2 separate regions of the Homo sapiens genome follow, and region 2 is linked to region 1. The links are contacts of gene promoters, found by promoter capture Hi-C in human tissues and cell types (Jung and others, 2019). All regions are on one chromosome and are shown on one strand. The core of a region is centred on a gene start or on the middle of the fragment in contact, and the rest is flanking DNA. Distances in the headings are between cores, read along the strand shown. Region 1 holds the start of TUBGCP6 (tubulin gamma complex component 6). Region 2 overlaps MOV10L1 (Mov10 like RNA helicase 1).

Region 1 (7,071 bases), core at 3,038-5,537:
TCCCAGCACTATGGGAGGCTGAGGCAGGTGGATCACCTGAGGTCAGGAGTTTGAGACCAGCCTGGCCAGCATGTGAAACCCCGTCTCTACTAAAAATATAAAAATCGGCCAGGCGTGGTGGTGGGCACCTGTGGTCCCAGCTACTCGGGAGGCTGAGGCAGAAGAATTGCTTGAACCCGGGAAGCGGAGGTTGCAGTGAGCCGAGATTGCGCCACCACACTCCAGTCTGGGCGACAGAGCAAGACTGTGGGCAGCAAGCCACCCAGGTGCCGAGGCAAGAGACCGAGGGCACGAGCTGTTCTAGTACAATAAAATATATAGAACAAGAATAGTTACACTATAGATCATAAATATGATTATATATGAACGTTATTAATCATTAGTTTGTAGCAATTGCTCTTTATTCCAAGATTATAATAATCTTCGCTCTACAATTGTAACTTACGAGAAACCAGGCCATACAGAGACAGGAGCTGAAGGGGCAAGGTGAGAAGTGACCAGAAGACAAGAGTGTGAGCCTTCTGTCATGCCCAGACAGGGCCACTAGAGGGCTCCTTAGTCTAGTGGTAATGGCAGCACCTGGGAAGACGCCCATTACCTAGCGGACCTTGGTCTAGCGGTAGCGTCAGTGCCTAGGAAAAGCACCCACTACTTAGCAGACCAGGAAAGGGAGTCTCCCTTTCCCTGGGGGAGTTAGAGAAGACTCTGCTCCACCACCTCTTGTGGAGGGCCTGACATGACTCAGGCCCACCCGCAGTTATCCAGAGGCCTAAACGTCTCCCTGTGATGCTGTGCTTCAGCAGTCACACTCCTAGTCCACTTTCATGTTCCATCCTGTACACCTGGCTCTGCCTTCTAGATAGCAGTAGCAAATTAGTGAAAGTACTAAAAGTCTCTGAAATGCAGAAATAATGGTGTAAGCTGTCTCCTCTCTCTCTGCTTCGGCTGCCAAACAGGGAAGGGCCCCCTGTCCAGTTGACACGTGACCCACGTGACCTTACCTATCATTGGAGATGACTCACACTCCTTACCCTGCCCCTTTTGCCTTGTATCCAATAAATAACAGCGCAGCCTGGCATTTGGGGCCACTACTGGTCTCCACGTGTTGGTGGTAGTGATCCCCCGGGCCCAGCTGTTTTTTCTTCTATCTCTGTCTTGTGTCTTTATTTCTACCATCTCTGGTCTCCGCATATGGAGAGAAAAACCCACAGACCCTGTAGGGCTGGTCCCTACACAAGACTCCATCTCAAAAAAAAAAAAAAAAAAAAAAAAAAGAACAATCAGGCCGGGCTCACGCCTGTAATCCCAGCACTTTGGGAGGCCGAGGCGGGCAGATCACGAGGTGAGGAGATAGAGACCATCCTGGCTAACACGGTGAAACCCCGTCTCTACTAAATATACAAAAAATTCGCAGGGCGTGGTGGCAGGCACCTGTAGTCCCAGCTACTCAGGAGGCTGAGGCGGGAGAATGGCGTGAACCTGGGAGGCAGAGCTTGCAGTGAGCCAAGATTGTGCCACCGCACTCGAGCCTGGGCGACAGAGCGAGACTGTGTCAAAAAAAAAAATCAAATAAAATAAAAAAATAAAAATACAAACATATAAAATACAAAAATTAGCTGTGTGTGGTGACGCACACCTGTAGTCCCAGATACTTAGGAGGCTGAGGCAGGAGAATCGCTTGAACCCAGGAGATGGAGGTTGCAGTGAGCCGAGACCACACCACTGCACTCCAGCCTGGGCGACAGAGCAAGACTTGTCTCAAAAACAAAAAACAAAACTGCTGTACACCAAGACATTTGCTGTAGCATTATGTATGTTTCTAAATCATCTAGCTATCGCATAAGAATAGAACGACTAGTAACAATGTATCCTTTTGGCAACACTGATAAAGCAATAAAATACAAAACTCAAATGAGGAGCTACAGCGTACCATGGTAAAGCCTCAGGCGACAGACAGCAAAAACATATCCAATTGCACGAATTACAGAACATGAACACTTTTGCCACACGTGGCTACTGAGCACTTGAAATGTGGCTTGTGGGGCTGAGGAACTGAGTATTTTATTTTGTTTTAATTAACTTCAATTTAAACGGCAGCTCTAGAAGGCAGAGGTGGCTTAACGATATACCCCATTAGGTAAAGATGAAAAGCAGCATGTTGCTTTGGCCGGCAGGTGGGCAGCACTGTCGCTGCAGAGGAGGGTGGCCGCCAGTAAGCCCACTCCAGCAGCCCCACCTCAGGACAATGCAGCCACCAGACTATCCCCCCTTTTACCATGATAAAAGGAAGGTCACCGGGCCGGGCACAGTGGCTCATGCCTGTAATCCCAGCACTTTGGGAGGCCGAGACGGGTGGATCATTTGAGGTCAGGAGTTGGAGACCAGCCTGGCCAACATGGTGAAACCCCGCCTCTACTAAAAATACAAAAATTAGTTGGGCATGGTGGCTCACGCCTGTAATCCCAGCACTTTGGGAGGCCGAGGCAGGCGGATCAAGAGGTCAGGAGTTCAAGACCAGCCTAGCCAGCATGGTGAAACCCCATCTCTACTAAAAATACAAAACTTAGCTGGGCGTGGTGGCATGCACCTAAATCCCAGCTACAGCTACTCGGGAGGCTGAGGTAGGAGAATCACTTGACCCCGGGAGGCGGCGGTTACAGTGAGCCGAGATCGCGCCACGGCACTCCAGCCTGGGCAACAGAGCAAGACTCCATCTCAAAAAAAAAAAAAAATTAAGCCGGGCGTGGTGGCAGGTGCCTGTAATTTCAGCTACTCGGGAGGCTGAGGTACGAGAATTGCTTGAGCCCAGAAAGTGGAGGTTAAGGTGAGCCAAGATCGCGCCACTGCACTCCAGCCTGGGTGACAGAGTGAGACACTGTCTCAAAAAAAAAAAAAAAAAGAAGAAGAAGAAGAAGAAGAAAGGTCACAGGAAGCATTTTCCAAACCCCGAGAGAGATGAAAGAGGAAAAACTAAACATTCTACCTTAATAGCCAGCCCAGAGAGGTCCGCATTGTCTGGCACGGGGGGCAGGCCCAGTCGGACGTCCATGTCATAAGTGCGGCTGTGCACAAGGGCCCCGAAGAGCGAGACCCGGGTGTCTCTCTCGAACCTGTCACCACAAGGGTCACCAAATGAGAAGAGCCCGACGGTGGGCAGGCCAGTGCCTGGAGCAGCCTCCATAACCTGAAGTGTTTCCTGGATCATGCTGTGACACAAACACTCTTCTCTGGAGATCAGAGACTGAACGTCCATCTCAAACACACTCAGGTCGTCGCAATCATAGCCGCTGTACGGAACGTTTCTCCCCACATGCTTGTTGTTAAGGAAGTAGTCTCGTTTTCTCGGCAGAACTTGAGGGGGACCACTCCCTGCCAGCTGAACCAGGAGGTCCAAAACAGACCCCACCTCCAAAAGCGGACAGCAAGGGGCTGCTTCCAGCTCCTCCACAAGCTCCTCCAAACGGTCGGCCTTGGGGCCCAGGCCACCCACTCTCAAGTCAAAGGACAACATGAGGATCTTGTTTCTCGCTGGTAGTTTTGACATGTCAGGCTGCAGCTGTTGAGTCTCATCTTGAAAAAGATTTGTGAAAAGAGCATTGTAGGCCACCTTCTTGAGGCTCCGCTTTGCCCTCTTCCGGTTCACACTGCGCTGGCCCAGGTGAGTCTTGGCAGCCGGCAGGAGGGCCTCACACAGGTCGTCGAACAGCTGCGTGATGCTGGCCATGCCCCTTCTCAGCTCCGGGCCCCCGGCGTGTGGGAAAACACCTCACCCGGGCTTCACTCACGCTCCGGAAGACAGGGAGTGAGAGAGGGTCCGAAGAGGCTGAATGACAGGCGGCCTCTCCAATGCCGAAGCTCAGAACTGGTATTTTTTAAAGGAGGTCTTGCGGTTGCTCTACTCAGAGTAAACACGCCCTGCCCTCCCCAGTCCAAGCACGCTGCCCGGCGCCCGGCAGCCCACCAGAAGCCAGCTCGGCGTTTCTTCTAATTCAGTAGCCCTCAACCTTTAGGGAGTCACAGAACCGTGGCAAAACCGAAGAACGAAACGCGCGCCCGCGCAGTACAGCGGACGAACTCGGCTTTGCACCCGTTCTTCGGGACCCACGAGAGGAGACGGCCAGGAGAGGGTGCCACTCCGAGGGTCGTGGGCAGCGGAGAGTCTGGGGGCTCAGCCGGGTGGGTCCCGGGTTCTGGCCTGCACGTCCACCCGTTCTCCAGGCCTCACCCGTGGAAAGTGCCCACGGCTGCCGCTCTCGCCGCCTCCGTCGCGTCACAGCCGCGCCAGTGTGAAGAGCACTAGGGCGGGCGCGCCGGAAATACGTCACGGGAACGCCGGCAGCGCGTGAAGTTGGTGAGGCCTGGGCCGCGGCATACTTCCGGCCTGAGTCCGGCACCGCGGGTGAGAGACCGAGGCCGAGCGTGCTCAGTAAAGGAGGCAGAGCCAGCGTTTCGTTTGAGCGATGTTTACTAACGGCGCAAGGGCGGGGAGCGAAGCGCAGCGGGGCGCAGGGGCCGGAACGGGACCGAGCGTGGGTTGCATGGGCCTCGATGGGACGGGCCGGGGCGCGATGGGTGGGGCGGGGGCGAGGTGAGGTGAGGGGTGGAGCGGGGGAAGCACGGGTGGGAGAGGGCGGGGCGCGGGGATTGGGAGTGGGCGGGGTTCCGTGCCCCAGAGTCGAGGGAGCCGTGGGCTTGGGGTCCGGATCGCGGCCGCGGGGCGCTGGCGTGCGGTGTCATTTCTGCGGTGTAAATGCTCCCACCTTGGCCGATTTCAAGCCACCAGGTGAGGATGGCACTACAGGAGGAGCCGAGAAGAGGCGCGCAGTTGGCCTCCGGCGCTGGAGCTGGTTCAGGGCACTCCCCTGCCCTGCCCTCCCCACCGATCTGTGCGGCAGAGCCAGGCCCCAGGGCAGGGCCATGCCTCCGCAGTCAGCCTCACCTGCAACATCTTCCACTGAGGCTCCAGCTGCCCTCTCAGGTACATCAGGGCCTGGACGTCCTCTGGGGAGGCCACAGAGGAAGGGCCTAGGCTAGGAGGTGCCTCTCCATTCAGCACCCGGGCCAGGATCCCTGCTAGCTGGGGTGTGGAGTTCTGGACCAGGGGCGAAGACGGAAGCAGTCACTGGTCCTTTCCCTCGTCCCACCCCGCAGCACCTCCACCCTGCCCAGCTTACCTCCTCCAGGAGGGCCAGGACTCGGCCCCCTGCCAGCCCCCGAAGCATTGCAGCCAGGAGTGCAGCGTGGGGGCCCTGCAGGCCATGGCCAGGCCCCAGCGCCACCAGCACCAGGTCAGGCTGGAAGCCATAGGCCAGGGGCAGCACCAAGCCCAAGATGCAGCTCAGGAAACCACCGGTCATCTGTGGGGACAGCAGAGCCCAGCTCCTCATCTACGGACACCTGCTGGCTCTGGCCTCCCAACCTCCCAATCTCAGGGCCCCTGGAGTAGGAGCAGGGAGACAGGAAGGACCAGAGGCCTGCTATCATGACAATGCCAGCAAACAGCAGCTGTACACATCCATGGGCTCCCCAGCACCTGCCTTGCCGCGTGGCATGGTCACTCACCACTGGCAGTGGCGTGGAGACATGGAACATGGATAGGGCAGCCGCCTCCTTGCCCCTGATGTTCAGCCACAGACTCCTCCTTCCAGGACACAGGTGCATAAGTGTAAGGCCCTGCTCACCCTCCTGAGCCCAAACCGCAGAGGCAGAGGTGGAAGAGCATTCACGGGGCCATGGGCAGGGGTGCTGTGACTGCTGAGCCTCTGTGCTGGAGACCCACCTGGCATTGCCTCCAGCAGCCCTTCTCCCACACCCCAGCTGAGGAAGGCTCCATTCAGTACCACACAGTGCCCCACCCACCCGTCACCCTGGGGCCCAGGCACACGTCCATCACATGCCCGTCCACATGCATGGCTGGACATATGCAAGACCTGAGAGTCCTACCCGTCATGGGCGAGGTCTGGAGGCCGGTCCAGCTGTCCCAGGGCCACGCACAGCAGCCTGGAAGAAGAGCTGGCCTCAGGACAGGTGTTCATGTTGTCCAGAGTCCATTCCCAGAACTCTCTGTGCTTGGCCAGCCAGGATAGGGGTGCCCACAGGTCCTGCCGTCAGAGGCTCAGGATGGCCAAGTGAGGCTTACCTCTGGGCTCCGTGGGACAGGCCTCTCCGAACAGCCACATCCAGGGTGGCTGCTGCAGCAGAGGCTGGAGTGGCTGCTATACCACTGTTCACCTGTGGGATGAATAAACAGTGGAGAATGAGGCACCAACCAACTCCCAAGCCAGGTAAACAGATCCACAGTTCCCTTCATTCGGTGTGTCTCTGCGGCTACTGTCAGCCACACATCTTCTTACACTAAGGTCAATCACTCCATTTCTGTAAATAAGATGCTTACGTCTATAATTTTTTTTTTTTTTTTTAGAGAGGCAGGGTCTCGTTCTGTAGCCAGGCTGGCGTGCAGTGGCGCAATTGTAGCTCACCACAGCCTCAAACTCCTGGGCTTAAGCGATCGTCCTGCCTCAGCCTCCTAAGTAACTACAGGCACACACCACCACGCTTGGCTGACTTTTTTATTTTTTGTGAAGACAGGGTCTCCATATGTTCTCTAGGCTGGTCTTGAACTCCTGGGCTCAAGCGTTTCTCCCACCTTGGCCCCCCAAACTGCCGTTATTACAGGCATGAGCCACTGCACCCTGCCTAAATGTATACTTTAAATCACCCCCTTCACCTCTCTGCCAAAGAGCATTTAACTGAAGAAGCTGAGGTCAGAGGTCAGACACACTAGTGATCCCCACCCCTGGGGCTGTTCTGGGAACAGTTCCTGGCACAAGGCAATGTTCACATCCATGTGGTTCTGCACCACCCAGCCCTCCTCTGGACAGGCCACATCTCGTTGGCAGGTCCTGGTCCCTGCCCCTAGGTCCACAGCATCCCCAACCCCTCCCAGGTGCTCCCACCTGCCCATCCAGCATCCCATCTAAGAGGTACAGGAGCTTCCCAAGTGCAGTGAGGGCCTCCTCCCGGGCCAGGGACTCGTGTGGCCTGTGGTGGACAGACCAGAGGGACACACAG
Region 2 (6,658 bases), core at 3,188-5,687, 150 kb before region 1:
GTTCAATAGTTTTCTTCTTTTAGGTCCTGTAAATTTCTTACTAAATTTATTTTCAGGAGTTTTTATGTGTTCTATTAACATCATTTTCCATCGTATTTTCAAATTAATCTTTTTCTTCCTGTATGGGAAAGCTTTCAATTTTTTTTTTTTTTTTTTGAGACGGAGTCTCGCTCTGTCACCCAGGCTGGAGTGCAGTGGCATGATCTTGGCTCACTGCAAGCTCCATCTTCTGGGTTCACACCATTCTCCTGCCTCAGCCTCCAGAGTAGCTGGGACTACAGGCGCCTGCCACCACGCCCAGCTAATTTTTTGTATTTTTAGTAGAGATGGGGTTTCACTGTGTTAGCCAGGATGGTCTCGATCTCCTGACCTCGTGATCCGCCACCTCGGCCTCCCAAAGTGCCGGGATTACAGGCATGAGCCACCATGCCCAGCGATTTTTAAATGTAATTTGGAATCTGGCAAACGTATTGAGCTATTAACTACTTTTTAAAAATACTTGAGATGTACTTTATTATACTATTATAGTTAGTACCATCTAATGCTTAGTATCATCTTTCTCAAATTAAAAAAAAAGCATACCCAATAAAATAATTCAAAGTCTAGAATTCCATCATTCAATATGGTAGCCACCACTCATGTGCAGCAGTTTCGATTTATTAAAACTAAATGCAACTTACAGCCAGGCGCGGTGGCATAAACCTGGAGTCCCAGCACTCGGGAGGCTGAGGCGGGAGTTCGAGACCAGCCTGGGCACATAGAGACCCTGTCTCTTAAAAATAAATAAATAAAAGTGTTTCCTCAGTTTCCCTGGCCACATTTCAAGTGCTAACTGAAGCCTAGTGACTACCAAATTGGGCAGCACACATAGAGAACATTTCTGTCAGCTCTGGCTTAGAGACTGTGAATGCAAAGTAGAAGAGCCTCCCTCCACGTTCCCCACCTGCACTTTCATGCTGCAGACCTGATGCTCTTCTGGGTTTCTGTTTCTACCTTATCTGGTAGATAGTTGAGTCACTTAAACAATATGCTTGTATCTTTTATTAATTCACCAATGTTAGTATTTATGGACTTCCATCATCAGAGATGTACAACTGGCTCATTCACACTACCCTCTTTTCCTCTCCCAATTATTTAATTATATTTTTTCCTCCAAAGATTTCCTTTTGAACTTGAAATTATACGATAGTCCTCATGTTTTTGTGTGTATTTAAAGGAGTACTCTGGGTTCAGAATCTTTGAAAGAGGATCTGGAACCCAGAACCTGTAGAGATGATGTTTACCTCATTCTCTGAGCTGTGGTCGTGTACTCACACGCGGCCTTCCAAAGCAGGTTCTCATACCAAATTCCCGTTGATTTTAAGATACACCATTAATTTGATAATGAAAATTTAAAATGGAAACGTAGGTTGTGAGACTCATTCTGATCTCAGAAATGTGACAATGTGGAAAAACTGGCCCCTGGGTGTCCAGCAAATCCCAGCCCTCTTGGTGGTCAGCTGCCCTTCACTTGTTCCATCTTGTAAGGAATGCAGGACCTTTTTTGTTATGGTGAAGAGGGTTCATCTCTACTCACAATCTTGCTTTTATAAATTAGTAATGGATTTTTCAAGTACTTTTCAGTATCTTCCAAATGATCCCATAGTTTCTGTCCCTTTGCTATTAATATGGTGGAAAATACAGTTTCTGTGTTGTGAGCCGTTCTCACTTGATGGGAATGATCCCCATTTGGTATAAACCTGAATGTACTTCTGGATTTATTTTTTATTTAGATATTTTTCTTGTGGTAAAATATGCGTAATATACCATTTTAACCATATTGAAATGTACGGTTCAGTGGCATTAAGCACGTTCACATTGTTGCGCAGCCATCACCACAATCTGTCTTCAGCACTTTTTCAGCATCCCAGTAGACACTCTGTACCCATTAAACAGTTATTCAGTGTTCTACTTTATGTCTCTATGAATTTGCCCATTCTAAATACCTCATATAAGCGGAATCATGTGTCTGGCTATTTGACTTCTGTTTTCAAGATTTGCCCATGTAGCATGTATCAAAAGTTAATTCCTTTTTTATGGCTGAATATTCCATTGTGTGAATAAATCACATTTTGTTTCTCCATTCATCTGTTGATGGACACTTGGGTTGTTTCTACTTTTTGGTTGTTGTGAATTGTGCTGCCATGAACAAGTCTGTCTGAGTCCTTGTTCAGTTCTTTTGGGGCTACGCCTAGGAAGAGAATTGCTGGGCTGTATGGTAAGTCTAGGTTTAACTTTGTGAGGAACCAGATGTTTTCCACAGCAGCTGCACCGTTATATGTTCCCACCAACAGTGCATGAGGCTGCCACTTTTTCTGTATCCTTGCCAACACTTGCTATTTTCTTTTTCTTTTTTTTTCTTTTGACAGTAGCTATTCCTCGTAGTTGTGAGGTAGTATCTCACTGTGGTTTTGATTTGCATTTCCCTAATGATTTGTGAGGGCATCTTTTCATGTGCTTATTGGCCATCTATATATCTTCTTTGGAGAAATATCTACTCAAATCCTTTGCCCGTTTTGAAATTAGGTTGTTTTCTTGTAGTAGGAATTCTTTATATATTCTGGATATTAATCTCTCATCACATACATGATTTGCAAATACTTTCTCTCATTTTATCAATTGTCTTTTCACTTTCTTCATGGTATCCTTTGATGCACAGATGTTTTAAATTTTGGTGGAAGTCTAATTTGTCTCTTTTATTGCATGTACTTCTGATGTCACACTCAAGATACCATTGACTAATCCAAGATTATGAAGATTTTTTTCTACCAAGAGTTTTATAGTTTTTGCTTTTAAATTAAAGTCTTTGATTCATTAAAAAAAATTTTTTGAGACAGGATCTCACTTTGTTGCCCAGGCTGGAGTGCAGCAGCACAGTCACAGCTCACTGCAGCCTCAACCTCCCAGGCTGAAGTGATCCTTCCACCTTAGCCACCTGAGCAGCTGGGACTACAGGTGTGTGCTGCCTCACCCAATTTTTGTATTTTTTGTAGAGATGGGGCCTCTCTATGTTGCCCAGGCTGGTCTCGAACTCCTGGGCTCAAGTGATCCGCCCATCCCACGCCTTTCCAAATGCTGAGATTATAGGGGTAAGCCACCACGCCTGGCCTCTTTAATCCATTTTGAGTTAATTTTTGTGTTTGGTGTAAAACGAGAGTCTAACTTTATTATTTTGCCCATGGTTATTTTCCCAGCACTATTTTTTTTTGAGACTGCACAATTGCAGTTTATTGAATGGTCCTTGTCAAAAATCAATTGACTGCACATGCAAGGGTTTATTTCTGGGTCTCTTTACTATTCCATTGGTTTATATTTCTGTCCTTACACTGGTGCCACACTAGTTTGATGACTGTAACTTTGTAGGAAGTTTTGAAATCAGGAGGTATGAAACCTTCAATTTTGTTACTCCTTTTCAAGACCATTTTGCCTATTCATGGTCCCTTGAGATTCCATTAGAATTTTAGATGAGTTTTTCTATTTATATAAAAATAGACCCATAGGACTTTGATAGGGATTGCGTTGCATTTGTTGGGTTTTTTTGTTGTTTGTTTGAGACAGAGTCTTGCTCTGTCACCCAGGATGGAGTGCAATGATGTGATATTGACTCATTGCAACCTCCGCCTCCCTGGTTCAAGCAATTCTCATGCCTCAGCCTCCCAAGTAGCTGGGACTGCAGGTGCTTGCCACTACACCCAGCTAATTTTTTTTGTATTTTTAGTAGAGATGGGGTTTCACCATGTTGACCAGGCTGGTCTTGAACTCCTGACCTCAAGTGATCCACCTGCCTCAACCTCCCAAAGTGCTGGAATTACAGGCATGAGCTACCACACCCAACCTGAATTTGTGTAATAGATCACTTTGGGTAGTATTGTCATCTTAATAATTAAGTCTAAGATTGTCATCTTAATAATAATTAAGTATTAAGATTAACATCTTAATAATAATTATTAAGATTAACATCTTAATAATCACATAATCACTTTGAGTAGTATTATCATCTTAATAATTAAGTCTTAAGATTGTCATTTTAATAATATTAGGTTTTCCAATTCATGAACGCGGTTGTCTTGCTGTTTATTGAGGTATTTAATTCATTCATTAGTGTCATTTTACGTGTCTTCCATCTCCTTAGTTAGGTTACTAAGTGTTCTGAGGAATTAACCTATTAACCTAACAGTGCTGTTATAAATGGAATTGTTTTCCCTTTCTTTGGATCATTTTTCTTGATTTCCTTTTTGGATTTTTCATTGCAAATGTATGGAAATCTGATTTTTGTATGTTGACTTTGTGTCCTGTGCTGGATTCATTTATTAGCTCTAACCATTTTTTGTTTCATTTACGTGTGTGGAATCTTTAGAGTTTTCCACAGATGAGATCCTACCATCTGTGAATAAAGATAATTGAAATTTGAAAGTCTTGAAGTAAGCATGGGCATCCTTGCCTGGTTCCTGATCTTAGGGGAAAGCTTTCGGCCTTTCACCATTGAGTGTGGTGTTTGTTGTGAGATTTTTGTTTATGGCCTTTCTCGTGTTGAAGAGATTTCCTGCGATTCCTAGTTTATTGAGTGTTTGCATCATAAAAAGTGTTGATTTTGTCAAATGCTTTTTGTGCATCAGTTGAGATCATCGTGATTTTTTCCCTCATCTTATCAATGTAATATGTTGACTGATTTTCATATGTTGAAACACTTTTGCATTCTGGGATAAACCCCACTTAGTCATGGGGTATAATCCTTTTAATATGCTGCTGCATTTGGTTTGATAATATTTCATTGAGGATTTTTGCATCAGTGTTCATAAGGGATTGCTATAGACTCAATGTTGGTGTCCCCCAAAATACGTATGTTGAAATCCTGACCCCAGTGGAATCTTATTAGGAGGCTTTGGTGGGTGACTGGGTCACAAGGGCAGAGCCCTTATGAAACATACCCCAGAGAACCCCTTTGCCCTTTCTGCCATGTGAGGACACAGCAGGAAGACACCGACGGTATACCAGGAAGAAGGCCCTCACCAGACCCGGAATCTGCCAGGGCCTTGATCTTGGACTTGCAGCCCTAATGGTCTCAGACAGGCATGCCAGCCTGTAGTTTGCTTTTCTTGTAGTTCTCGTATTATGGTTTAGAGCGGTGTGTTTGTTTTACAGGTAGAAGCTGTCTCTGATAAGTGGGAAGACGACAGCAGAAACCATGGGAGTCCCTCAGACTGCGGCCCCCGAGTGTTGATTGGCTGTGTGACTTCCCTGGTGGAGGGCGCAGGCTGTATCAGTCAGACCACCTACTTCTCTCTGGAGAGTGTGTGCGAAGGTATGCTCAGGGGTCTGTGTTCCACATTGAAAATTAGGTTTTGTCTTTTAAAGAATTGTTATGGACCAGGCACGGTGGCTCATGCCTATAATCCCAGCACTTTGTCAGGCTGAGACAGGAGGATCGCTTGAGCCCAGGAGTTGGAGGCTGCAGTGAGCTATGATCCAGCCACTACACTCCAGCCTGGGTGACAGAACACAACCCTGTGTCTATATTTGTGATGGCTACACACAACATTGAAGGGATCAGTTTTGGGCATGCTTTGTTTGTTGAGAGGGTTTCGGGATTAGAGTAGCTTCTCCAGGTGCTGGCTTCACACAGAGGCTCTTGGATATTGAGTGGACTATGGGAGAGGGCACCAGGTCACTGTTTTGTTTTTTTTGTTTTTGTTTTTGTTTTTGTTTTTCGAGATGGAGTCTCACTCTGTTGCCCAGGCTGGAGTGCAGTGGTATGATCTCAGCTCACTGCAACCTCTGCTTCCTGGGTTTGATTGATTCTCCTGCCTCAGCCTCCTGAGTAGCTGGGATTACAGGTGTGCACCACCATGCCCAGCTAATTTTTTGTATTTTTAGTAAAGATGGGGTTTCATCAGGTTGGCCGGGCTGGTCTCGAACTCTTGACCTTAGGTGATCCACCTGCCTCGGCCTCCTAAAGTGCTGGGATTACAGGCATGAGCCACCACACCCAGCCAGGTCACTGTTTAAACTTGTGCTTTTATGTGTTTTGTGTTCATTTGTTAAATGCAGTCAGTAATTTCTGGGTAGTTGTTGCTTCCATATAATTATAGTGTTATGATCTAAGTTAGTGTTACTGGCATGCTGAGGTACTATTTAAAGTACTTTAGATGTTTTAAAATAGGGCTTGGGGATGACATTGTACGTTTCCTAAAGTATATATCCTTTTTCTTTCTTTCTTTCTTTCTTTTTTTTGAGATGGAGTCTCACCCTGTCGCCCAGGCTGGAGTGCAGTGGCACGATCTCAGCTTACTGCAACCTCCGCCTCCTGGGTTCAGGCGATTCTCCTGCCTCAGCCTCCTGAGACTACAGGTGCCCACCACCACAGCAGGCTAACTTTTTGTGTCTTTAGTAGAGACAGGGTTTCACCATGTTGGCCAGTCTGGTCTTGAACTCCTGACCTTGTGATCTGCCCGCCTTGGCCTCCCAAAGTGCTGGGATTACAGGCGTGAGCCACCACTCCCGGCTTTATATATCCATTTTTTATTGCATTTGTTTTTGGCTGATCAAAGGATTTGTTTTTATACCTAAAGAAAGAATATGTCGATGTCATTGACTGAGCTGAACTCAGCAGCGGTTTACT

Evidence for each region. Contacts are between HindIII fragments. The study calls those that stand out against the background at their distance.
Region 2: a fragment that was not itself captured here is called in contact with the fragment with the promoter of TUBGCP6 in region 1 in 1 of the 25 tissues and cell types used here (lymphoblastoid cells).

The regions. Positions count from the first base shown.
Region 1 is chr22:50,240,736-50,247,806 of GRCh38, forward strand. It overlaps TUBGCP6 (tubulin gamma complex component 6), which reads right to left and starts at 4,288. Exons shown (of 25, transcript NM_020461.4): 1 at 2,984-4,288. The coding sequence starts at 3,724. HDAC10 (histone deacetylase 10) reads right to left here. Exons shown (of 20, transcript NM_032019.6): 14 at 6,957-7,041; 15 at 6,140-6,231; 16 at 5,944-6,000; 17 at 5,563-5,641; 18 at 5,175-5,357; 19 at 4,940-5,092; 20 at 4,448-4,795. The coding sequence ends at 4,772. RefSeq lists enhancers at 670-969, 2,877-3,807, 3,381-3,660, 4,071-4,120, 6,795-7,071 and a silencer at 4,591-4,660. The HindIII fragment of the contact is 41,268 bases long and covers 1-7,071 here.
Region 2 is chr22:50,094,262-50,100,919 of GRCh38, forward strand. It overlaps MOV10L1 (Mov10 like RNA helicase 1), which reads left to right. Exons shown (of 27, transcript NM_018995.3): 3 at 5,182-5,341. Among named protein-coding and RNA genes, the nearest start is that of MOV10L1, 7.6 kb to the left of the region's middle. The HindIII fragment of the contact is 9,728 bases long and covers 1-6,658 here.